Regions from separate parts of the Homo sapiens genome. Here region 1 is linked to region 2. Evidence: promoter capture Hi-C in 16 types of primary human blood cells and fetal thymus (Javierre and others, 2016). All regions are on one chromosome and are shown on one strand. The core of a region is centred on a gene start or on the middle of the fragment in contact, and the rest is flanking DNA. Distances in the headings are between cores, read along the strand shown.

Region 1 (2,874 bases), core at 300-2,799, 240 kb after region 2:
CATTCTCTGAACAAGCATTTTTTAAGTGCTTACCATGTTTCATGCTATGCTAGGAGCTATGAAGAAGGGGGAATAAGAGCTGCTTGGTTTCATTAACTTTAGTGTGATACACCTTCTGAATCCTGTGAATAAAGAGTCTGGGTAAACTAAGGTCAATACATAAAAATAAAACAGATTACAGATGTTCCCACAGTGAAAATGATCACTGTGCACACTGGTGTTTACTTTAATGGACACGTGAATGGGAATGGTGTCAGCACCACACTCTGAGTATCATCAACTGACTCATGAGAAATCCAGAACACTGAAAGGAGGTAGAGAGGCTGTGTTACCTCTTCAACTTTGAGCCCCATCTTGCTGAATCAGAGAGTCAACTGAATAGGATTAATATTAAGACCAAACAAGGACGGTTTCAAGTTGTTTGACTAGATATTTCCTCCTTTCTCTCTTATCATATGTTGTTTTTCCTAATTATTTAACTCTTAGGCCTTCCAATTCTATCCCTCCTTGTTGATTTATACCATCCATACTCTTTTGGGTAATTAAGATTTCCTTCTTTAGTCATCACCCCAGCATATAAATTTCATTATCTTTAACTTATCTTACTTATCTCAGTGTAAGAAACTCATCTAAATACACCTATCCACTTCCTTTTGCAGACACGATCATAACATTTGTAATTTTTCTCGGTTGTAGCTGAATAAGTTACTTAGAAGATGATTTTACATGTTCTTTTTATTTCTTTACTTATCCTCTGTCTACATTTCTGACATGTGCACATGCTCCAATATCTAAGGTTAAATCTTCACTGGTTGGGCAGGTGAGTAGTTGATATACGACTAACAGGCAATTCTCCTTCAGGAAACTCAAGATTGTGTAAGTATGCCTGATTCATCCCTGCTGCTGCAACTGAAACATGTAATAAAAGAGCAACAACAAAGAGAGGCGATGATGACAGCTTAGCTGCAGCATCTTGTTCTCTAGCTCAATAAGCCAACAGGGAAACTATGACCCTGGTGAAACAAGTAGCTCTCAGAATCATTCCAGTCATTCCAAAGAGTGATGTGATTTTTCTTCACATGTTCACAATGAAGATACTATGTTGTTTAATTGATGCTCTTTTTCAAAGTGTGTTCTCTTGTTTCTATATACCTCCCTTATAAGGCTCCATACTGTCATTCAACTTAATTTCTGTTCAACAGAGATTTCTTAAACACCTCCTACATGCTAAGCACTGTGCTAGGAGCTATAAATATCATGAGGTGGATACAGACATGGCTGTCTCCTGGTACATTCTTTTTCTATCATTCAATCACATTCACCTATTTTTAAATATGTTGATAATGAGTCAGGATATAAGAATATAAGGCTAAAAGCACGGGCTCTGATCAGAGAGACTTGGTGATGAGCCTTAAGCTTATCACTATTATGGTGGTCATAGGCTTACTTGCATGTACTACTGAGCCTTTGCTTTCCCATTTGTGAAATAGAGGTCACATTAGTACCTACTCCCCAGAATAGTTTTGAGGATTAAGTGAGATAAGTGCTCCAGTGTCTTGAATTTAGCAGTGTTAAAAAAGTAGAAGTTCTTATTAATTAATAATATGATTTTCCTGAGAATGTAAACACAGACTCACTAGTTCTCTGCCAGAAGGTGAGGCACCTCCTTGAGCCTCCTAAGAAAAGCTTTTGACAAAGGTTGAAACTGATGTGTAATTGAATTCATAACAAGCTTGTTGAATGGTCAACCAGGAAATATTAAGGTGAAGATTTCTCATGTCAAGTGAAATTAAGAGAATATGAACTAGTGCTGTGACCCCCAAGCTCCCTTTCTTTAAAAGACATTTTCTCTGATTTATTCTGAATAAAACAAGTCTGAGAGAGGCTGTGAAGTAATGGTTCTGTGGTAATTAGGTCATCTTCAGAAAGTGCTATATAAAATATTATGCATTATATATTCACAATGCACTTCATTAGCATGTTAAAAATTCAGAGAATACTAGCAGAAAAGAAGCCGGTTTTAATTTCTTATCATTTCCCAAATTCATTTGTCTGTAGGATTCTTTGTTTGTTGAATAGCATCAAGTAGCATCTCAAGGAACACCCTTTGGGAAATGCTGCTGAGAGAAGCTAAGAACTTGCTTCACGATCGTCAAGCACTGAAAAGGATTCATACTTGGGAAACTGGCAAACTGTTTTTCTGACCCTGACCCTTGCCAGTAGTATAATCATGGGCAAGTCACTTGATTTCTTCACATGTAAAACAAAATGATAATATATCCTCCATGGACAGCCATAGAGAGAAGATTCATTACAAAATGCATTTACGGTAGGAACAGAAGTTGACAATAAAAGTTAATATTGTCACAATGTGCATTCTAATTTACACGAAACTCATTGCAAGGAAGCAGATCTTAAAAGTAGTCTTGATACTGGAAGACTGGGAAGAGTTTGGGTGTGCTCAGGACAGAGCTATTGACTAAAGTGTGAGGTATGTGTAGAGAAAGATGAGGAATCAAGGCTGGGAAGACGAGAAAAGGAGGAAGATAATTTGGTGCTGGGGTGCTGAGGACACTAATAGAAATGGTGAAAAACAAATGTGAGTAGGGGTGGCTGAGGGGTAAAGCCAGACTCTTTTCTGACATGCTAGTTTGAAGAGCAAACAAACCATCCAGTTGGCAATTTCATTTATCTAGATCTTAGGAAAGAGTTCAGAGCTTGTGAAACAGGAAACATTAGCATATTATTGTGAAATTTTTGAGAGAAGAATCATTTCTTATTCAGCTCCGTATCTTCTGTGTTCAACCTGGTGTCTGGTGCGTAGTAGAAGGTCTTAAAAGTTTGACAAATGAATTAATCAATGAACAAATTAAT
Region 2 (3,013 bases), core at 117-2,616:
GAAATACGGTATCTACTTTTAAGAAAATTATTTTCTATTTTATAAACGTGCATTTCCACATTTATGGTAGCAAAATTAAAGTACATTTGCCGAGAGATACTAAAGACAGCAAAACTTCTATTTAAAATTTTAAACACGAAGAAGAAATAAAGTCCCATTAGGAGTGTCTCTTCTATTATTGAAGGAAATTTAAAAAGATTCCTACTACAGAAATGGCTTTAAGAAAAGCAATAGGAAAGGTTATAAATTTGAAATATTCATAACTGTTCTAAAAAATACTTCATAATGATTGCTCTTTGTGCAAGAAATGTATCAAAGAGCCAGAGACCTCATCATCTAATTTCTTACTTTTTCTTAATTAACATTGTTCCCAGACCTCTGCTAAACTCCCGTGTTGAAAGGAAAAAAGTAAATACAGTACAGCAGGGAAAACTGGTTCCTTTCGACAAAACTGAGAGAGAGGCTTGAGCTTTTGTCAAACAGAAAGCACTTGATAAAAAACTATTCCTAAACTATTAGCAACTATATAGAAGCTTTTTATTTAACAGCATCCTCCTGGGAAACTGCGCTGGAATGTGCAGCGGTTCTGAAAAAGGCACAGATTTGGCTGAACTGTAAATATTAGGTGCACAGAGGCGAAGCCATTGTGTAGGGAGGGGTGGGGCAGGTAGGGTCCTGATTTCCAATGTTGATAGAAGGATTCCAATTTCGTTTGGTATTTATTTTTTTCTACTACAATTACAGTTTTGCTGAGAAAAATAAAATATTGGTTGTGCTTCCATCTGGGTTTCTAATTTTCAGTGTGTACAGACAAGAGAAGACCTCTCATTTACCCAAAAGAATCACCTTTCTGCAATCTCCAGTGCTACTGGACAAACAAACGAGCCCAACCCCACCGCCCACACCTCCCAAGCACCCGGCTCGCCGATCCCGCCTGCTTCAGGTAGCTGGGGTTTGCCCGGTACGCCAGCGGCCCTGAGACGATGTGTGCCCGCAGCACGATCGTGTCTGTTGGCATTTCTGGGTGTGGATGCTCCAAACCAATAAACCACAATACAGAACCCAAGCTTGGACTTTGAACCGAGCCCTTTTGCCTAGTTTGCTTTTTCCTCATCAAGCCAGGATCCTTGCCAACCCACCTCACAGCTTCTGCCCGGGCTGTGGCTCCCCTCCAGCCACCTGCGCGTGTTCGGGATAGAAGCGCGGTCAGGAGGGGAGCTCAGTCCACCAGCCACTCCAGGGAGAGACGGAAACTACAAATCCCATCAAGCCCCGCAGCCGGCTCCCTCCTCCTCCCTCTCCTTCCCCTTCAGCCTGCGGCCGGGCGGCGCTGGGCTTTTATCTGCGGACCCGCCGGGAGGGAGCCAGATCCCAGCGATCTTCCCCGACGGCAGCGCTTTACCCAGAGGCTGCCGGCGGCTCGTAGCTGGGTTCAGCTCTGCGTCCACGCCAGCCCGGAGCCCGGGGGGCAAGGGGTCTGTCCCGGGCGCAGCGAGAGGATGGTCATCCGCGTGTTCATCGCCTCTTCCTCGGGCTTCGTGGCGGTGAGCGCGGTGGGGGCGGGCAGTAGGTTGGGGTCGCGGGGCGCGGGTCCTGCGGGAGGCGCGCGGCGCTCGTCACTGCGCGTCCTTGCGCTCAGCCGGTCCGCCCGCGGGAGCCCGCGCCCGGCAGGTGATCCATCACACTCCGACAACAATGAAGAGGGCGGGGAGGAAAGGTGGGTGGGGGACCCCGGCCTCACCCAAATGCCCACCCTGCGTGGCCTGAAAGGCAGACAACGCGGCCTGAAAATGGAGTCCGAGGGAAGCCCCCAGCTCCTGTTGTGTGGCATGGAAATTTGGGGAACGGGTTGTTCAAGAGCTTCGGGGATCCCCCTTCCCCTAGTTTAGTTCTTCCCGATTTGGGACCTTCAGACTGGTTATGTTTTGCACGGGAGCCTTTTCTGCTGCTTTGGTTTGTTACCCTAGCTCCTGAATGAAGCAAGTTTAAGTGGGAATTGCTCTCTGTCCTCCCTTCCCCGCCAGCAAGTGCATTTGTTTAGTTTTATACCTGCGCAAAGAGAATAGTAAAACTAGGTTTGTCCTGTTGTGGTAGGATTGTTTGCTTTCACTGTCATTTTTTTTCTTAGGGTGCCATAAATATTTTTACATCTTTATGTAAATGTGTGTGTATGCACGCATTTTCTTTCCACCTGTAATGCTGTGGAAATTTTATCCTGGGGATCTATGAATTGTGGTTTTCTATTTAATTATTTTTAGCTATTCTCTTTGGTGGATGTTCTTGAATTTTTTTAGAGAAAAAAAATTTTTTTAAAGAAAGGAAAGTTAAATAGCTAGAGATGTCAGAATTTAAGGAAAATTCAGTAGTTAGTATATTTGACAGCCCACTAAGGGACATAGCACATGTGTTTTACATGATTATTGAGACTTGGTTTCCTTAACCAAGAGTTCAGCTATAGATTTAAGAGCCTCCTTTGTGACATATATAATCAAGTAACATCAAAAAGTGCATTGTAGATTGCTTAAATTTGGTCTGGTCAATTGTCTGCCCAGTAGCTCAGTCAGATTGTTCCAAAATTTGTTTCTTAAGTGGGTGGAGTGGAGGATGGAATAAAATATTGTTTGAAAATCCTTGTACACCACTGAAGTTTTTTATTTAAAAAGAAACCAACACGATCATACAAAGCCCCTCCACCCCCATTTGCACTAGAAACAATAGATGGGAAAATCCAACTTACACTTATGTGCAGTCATGTTGGGGTCCTCAGACTTCTGACAGTTTCTGGTGTTTCTAGCTATTTGGGTTGCTTAGTCATGCCTGCCTTTTGTAGATTTCCCCACTGAAGCCACACTTCATGTGTTTGCAAACTGGCACTGTTTCAAGGGTAGATTTGTTCAAATGCACTCCTTACTAAGAATGCTACAAAGCTCTTGGTTTCACCACCGACTTGCATGCTTCAATAATTGTCCCAATAGCATTATATTGATTATGGAAGGAATGGTTTTTATCCCTT

The links. The method cuts DNA at HindIII sites, captures the fragments that hold promoters and counts their contacts. A CHiCAGO score of 5 or more calls a contact.
Region 1: a fragment that was not itself captured here is called in contact with the fragment with the promoter of SH3BGRL2 in region 2 in 1 of 17 cell types (M1 macrophages); the score reaches 5.2 in M1 macrophages.

The regions. Positions count from the first base shown.
Region 1 is chr6:79,872,242-79,875,115 of GRCh38, forward strand. No RefSeq gene overlaps it. Among named protein-coding and RNA genes, the nearest start is that of LINC01621, 61 kb to the left of the region's middle. The HindIII fragment of the contact is 270 bases long and covers 1,415-1,684 here.
Region 2 is chr6:79,629,963-79,632,975 of GRCh38, forward strand. SH3BGRL2 (SH3 domain binding glutamate rich protein like 2) reads left to right here and starts at 1,367. Exons shown (of 4, transcript NM_031469.4): 1 at 1,367-1,544. The coding sequence starts at 1,500. The HindIII fragment of the contact is 2,885 bases long and covers 1,066-3,013 here.